Regions from separate parts of the Homo sapiens genome. Here region 1 is linked to region 2. The links are contacts of gene promoters, found by promoter capture Hi-C in human tissues and cell types (Jung and others, 2019). All regions are on one chromosome and are shown on one strand. The core of a region is centred on a gene start or on the middle of the fragment in contact, and the rest is flanking DNA. Distances in the headings are between cores, read along the strand shown.

Evidence for each region. Contacts are between HindIII fragments. The study calls those that stand out against the background at their distance.
Region 1: a contact is called between a fragment that was not itself captured here and the fragment with the promoter of BHLHE22 in region 2, in 1 of the 25 tissues and cell types used here (dorsolateral prefrontal cortex).

What each region holds. Positions count from the first base shown.
Region 1 is chr8:64,934,531-64,937,230 of GRCh38, forward strand. No RefSeq gene overlaps it. Among named protein-coding and RNA genes, the nearest start is that of CYP7B1, 140 kb to the left of the region's middle. The HindIII fragment of the contact is 3,935 bases long and covers 1-2,700 here.
Region 2 is chr8:64,579,109-64,581,808 of GRCh38, forward strand. It overlaps BHLHE22 (basic helix-loop-helix family member e22), which reads left to right and starts at 1,257. Exons shown (of 1, transcript NM_152414.5): 1 at 1,257-2,700. The coding sequence starts at 1,683. It overlaps LOC124900252, which reads right to left and starts at 904. Exons shown (of 2, transcript XM_047422518.1): 1 at 1-904. BHLHE22-AS1 (BHLHE22 antisense RNA 1) reads right to left here. Exons shown (of 2, transcript NR_152770.1): 1 at 2,610-2,700. RefSeq lists an enhancer at 2,045-2,124. The HindIII fragment of the contact is 20,885 bases long and covers 1-2,700 here.

The DNA.
Region 1 (2,700 bases), core at 9-2,508, 360 kb after region 2:
TTACACCAGCAATGTAGGAAAGTTCCAACATCTACAAGTACCTTACCTTACAAGATTTGCAAAAATGTTTTCCAATCCTATGAGTTATCTTTTCACTTTCTCTATGGTGTGTTTTTTGAAGGCTGAAAGTTCTTAATTTTTATGTTCACTTTAGGTACATTCTCTTTCATTGCTTACACTTTTTGTGTCATATCTAAAAAAATAACTGCCTAATCTAAGATCTCAAAAATATATGCCCATGTTTGCTTCTAAAAATTTTATAGTTGTAACTCTTACATTCTGTTTTTTTGTTAATTTTGAGTTCATTATTTTGCATGTGGGTATCCACTTGTCCCCTCACCATTTGTTGAAAGATTATTCTTTTCCCCCCATGTAATTGCCCTAGAATTCTTGTTGAAAATCAATTGACTGTGAATGTAAAATATTTATGAACTTGATTCTATTCCATTGATCTGTATGTCTTATCCTATGCCAGTACTGCACTGTCTTGGTTGCTGCAGCTTTGTACTAAGTGTGAATCCTCCCATTTTATTCTTTTTCAAGAACTGTTTTGCCTATTCTGGGTACTTAGCATTTGCATGTGAATCTTAGTTCAGTTTATCAATTTCTGCAAATAAGTCAGTTGGAATTTTACTTTTTGTGTTGAATCTATAGATCAATTTTAGTGAGAATTGTGTCGAATCTGTATTTCCCTTTAACAATATTATACCTTCCAATATACGAGCTCAGGGATATCTTTCATCTCTTTAGGTCTCCTTTAATTTCTTTCAACAATATTTTCTAATTTTCAGAGTATACATTTTATATAACTTATTAAATTTATTCCAAAGTATTTTATTCTTTTTATGCTATTACAAATGCTATCATAAGTAGAATTGTGTCCTAAATTTTATTTTTAGTTTGTTTATTGCTATGGCGTAGAAATATAACTCATTTTTTATATTGATCTTGTATCCTGCATACTTGTCAAGCTTGATTGTTAGCTCATACTTTTAGTGTATTTTTTAGGTTTTTCTATATACAAATCACTTTATCTTCAAATAGAGATAGACTCATTTCTTTCTTTCCTATCTGAATGCCTTTTATGTATTTTTCTTGCCTGTTGTACTGCCTAGAATCTCTAGTACAATTTTGAAAAGGAGTCATGAGAGTATATATCCTTTCCTTATTCCTGACCTTAGAAGAAAAGCATTTAGTGCTTCACTGTTAAGTGTGATGTTAGCTATGGTTTTTTAGTAGCTTTTGTTTATTAAATTGAGGACTTCCCTTCTATTCCTAGTTTCCTTCATGATTTTATCATGGAGGAATATTGAATTTTTTATTTTAGCTTTTTTTGAGATGAAAATAACTAACATAAAATTAACTTTTCTAAAGTGAAAAATCCAGTAGCATTGAGTACATTTACAATTTTGTGCAACTGCCACTGCTATCCAATTCCAAAACCTCTTCATTGCCCTAAAAGGAAATATGTAGCCACTTAGCAGTTGATCCCATTCCTCCTATCCCCTGGCAACTACCGGTCTTTCTGTCTCTATGGATTCCCCTCTTCTGGATAGTTCATATAAATGGAATCATATAACATGGGACCTTTTTGTATCTGGCTTTTTTCATTTAACAAAGTTTTTGTTATTGATACATAATAGTTGTACATATTTATGGAGTACATTTGATATTTTGACACATGAATACAATGTATAATGATCAAATCGGAGAAGTTAAGATATCCATCATCTCAAACACTTACCATTTCTTTGTTGGGAACTTTCCAAATCTTCTCTTTTAGCTGTTTTGAAACATATAATGTATTATTGTTAACTACAGTCACCCTACTGTGCTATTGAACATTAAAACTTATTCCTTCCATGTAACTGTATTTTTGTACTAGTTAACTAACCCCTTCCCACCCTTCCCCACCTCTGGTAACCACCATTCTACTCTATCTCCATGAAATCAATTGTTTTAGCTCCCATTAACATAATGTCCTCTGGTTCTGTCCACGTTGCTGCAAATGACAGAGTTGCATTCTTTTTATGGCTAAATAATATTCCATTGTGTATGCATACCACATTTTATTTATTCATCTGTTGATAGATGCTTAGGTTGTTTCCATATCTTAGCTATTGTGACTAATGCAATAATCTTCTCCTGTGCCCATTGATCATGTCGCTTTTATCCTTTATTCTACTGATTTAGTATATTGTATTATCATTATAGTGATATGCTGGCTGAAAGCTTCTGACTTTGAAGAGCTGGTCAAGAAATAAATCATTTAAAACTCATTTTTTACTCAAAGTAAAAGATACATAATTTAGTAATTCCTTTTTCCAGCTGAACACAATTTTTTTTCTACTTCTTATAAGAAGTTTATTTTAACAGAACAACGTCTTAGTGTTGTCATCACTCTTATTTATGGGACTACAAATAGTGATGTAACTAAAGAGTTAAGAATTATATAAGGTGTGAACAGATGATTAAACACTTTAAATTTGTAAAATATTGTGGACTATAATTAATCTGTTAGATAAGCCAAGCACTGTTCTGATCACAAACAATATAAATACAGTATAGTCTCTGACTTTAGAGGTTCAGAGTCAAGGGAAAGAGAAAGGCATATAAAAAAGAGAAAATAAAATAGGTATGAATGTATATCATACTTTAAAATGAATACTAAGCAAAATTTACTTTAAAAATCATACTTTA
Region 2 (2,700 bases), core at 7-2,506:
ATGAAACCAGAGAAACCAAAAATTGCATAGTCTTCAGTACTTCTGCCATATAAGAAAGAGTTATTGGAAGGTGTTGGGAAATATTGTTTTTACTTATGTCATAAGGATGAAAACCAGCTGCTAAATACCATGTGTACCCAGAGACCGAACTCAGGAGTGAGATGACCGCGTGTACCAGTGCCCATCCGGAGAGGAGCACTTGTTTTTACATTCTCCCTTCCCGAACCCTCCAAGAACAACCGAGGCTGATCCAGATGTCCTTAAATGGCTTCCGGGTAAATAAATATGCATAAATGCCTCACTTCGTGTGGGAGCGGATTTGACTCCTGGTGAAGTTGACTCTTTTGAAGCAATCAGATTTTCATCTTAAGGAAAGTTTGAGAAACCGGTTTGTTTGTTTGTTTTCTTCCTGTTTAGGAAATTGTGTACTTCACAATTACCATCACTGTAACAGTTATTTGGAGACCACTGCAAAATCACTGCCACCCCACCTTAAAAAAAAATGGGCTGCATGATCACTTGCTCTTCATTTTGCTTTTTTCTTTCTTTTTTTCCAATCTGGGTAGGAAATGGGCAGTGGCGGGTGTGGAAACGAGGCAGAGTGTTCGGGGGGACGACTGCTTTGCTCTCTGACCAGCTGAAAACCTAGAGTGAATTTTGGGCAAGCCAGCTGGGACACCACCTTCTCTCGGAAAGTCCCATCCCCAAATCCAGACCAGTCATCCTACGAACAGGGGTGGAGTATAATTCTCGCCCGGAAGGGTAATTTAGCACAAGCTGAGACAGCAGTGGCGAGGGAAGGGCAGTGGGGGGTGGGGTGCGGTGGGTGGGGGCGTCTGCTTTCCACAGGACTCCCAGGCTTCGCCGCCGATCTACAATTTGCTGAAGGAGCAAAGAACATCCTCGGCTCTAAGTAGGGCTTTTAGTGTGCTCATTGATGAGTGAAAGTCGCCACACATGTCAAGCTAAAGGCAGTTGTTGGGTTACTAACAGGACCCAGCGCCTTGCAAACATATGCGCTAAGCTGTGTATACAGATGGCAGGCAGAATAATGGAGCAGGCGCCTTTTATAAAGCTCTAGCTGCTGCCTGTCTTCAGACCTGGGAAATGAAACTATTCAGACTTGCGGCCAGATAGCGCCTGCGATTGTTTGTTACCGTTTTAATCCTATTAATTAAAACGTTAACCTGATTGGGTAGAAAGCGCTGTCCCAACAGGCGAGTCTTCTTCATAATAACCTACTCAGAGATAATGATGTAAAAGACTCCCCCGTCTGTGGCGGCGGCTGTTTGATGGGTCCGGAAATCTCTTGAAGGTGAATCCAAGCAAGATAAACGGTGCGGAGAGGAGGCGCGGGGCTGGGCTCAGAGCGGCGGCGGCGGCGGCTCCACTCCCTCCGCGCCCACCCTCCCACCATGCGGGGCCGCGGCCCATGGTGAGCCCCAGCAGCCAGCACCATCGGCTGGAGACGAAGAAGAAGAAGAAGAGGAGGCGGCGAGCGCGGGGGAAGGCGAAAAAGAAAAAGAAAGAAGGGGAGAGGGCTCCCGGCAGCACCAGGACCGACGCGCGCACCAGCTCCGGAGCCCAGCTCGCGCGCGTCTGTGGGGCCGCCTGACTCCGGGGCCGAGGCGGCGGCGGCGGCAGCGGGCGCGGCGGCCCGGGCTGCGCGCCGGCGCGGGACCATGGAGCGCGGGATGCACCTCGGTGCAGCGGCCGCCGGCGAGGACGACCTCTTCCTGCACAAGAGCCTGAGCGCCTCCACCTCCAAGCGCTTGGAAGCGGCTTTCCGCTCCACGCCCCCGGGCATGGACCTGTCCCTGGCGCCGCCGCCTCGGGAACGCCCGGCGTCCTCCTCCTCGTCGCCCCTGGGCTGCTTCGAGCCGGCTGACCCCGAGGGGGCAGGGCTGCTGTTGCCGCCGCCTGGAGGAGGCGGCGGCGGCAGCGCGGGAAGTGGCGGCGGCGGCGGCGGCGGGGTGGGTGTCCCCGGGCTGCTAGTAGGTTCAGCCGGCGTTGGGGGCGACCCTAGCCTAAGCAGCCTGCCGGCCGGGGCCGCCCTTTGCCTCAAGTACGGCGAAAGCGCGAGCCGGGGCTCGGTGGCCGAGAGCAGCGGCGGCGAGCAGAGCCCCGACGACGACAGCGACGGTCGCTGCGAGCTCGTGCTGCGGGCCGGAGTAGCCGACCCGCGGGCCTCCCCGGGAGCGGGAGGTGGTGGCGCGAAGGCAGCCGAGGGCTGCTCCAATGCCCACCTCCACGGCGGCGCCAGCGTCCCCCCGGGGGGCCTGGGCGGCGGCGGCGGCGGGGGTAGCAGCAGCGGTAGCAGTGGCGGCGGTGGCGGTAGCGGTAGCGGCAGCGGCGGCAGCAGCAGCAGCAGCAGCAGCAGCAGCAAGAAATCCAAAGAGCAAAAGGCGCTGCGGCTTAACATCAATGCCCGAGAGCGCCGGCGGATGCACGACCTGAACGACGCGCTGGACGAGCTGCGCGCGGTGATCCCCTACGCGCACAGCCCCTCGGTGCGAAAGCTCTCCAAGATCGCCACGCTGCTGCTCGCCAAGAACTACATCCTCATGCAGGCGCAGGCCCTGGAGGAGATGCGGCGCCTAGTCGCCTACCTCAACCAGGGCCAGGCCATCTCGGCTGCCTCCCTGCCCAGCTCGGCGGCTGCAGCGGCAGCAGCTGCTGCCCTGCACCCGGCGCTCGGCG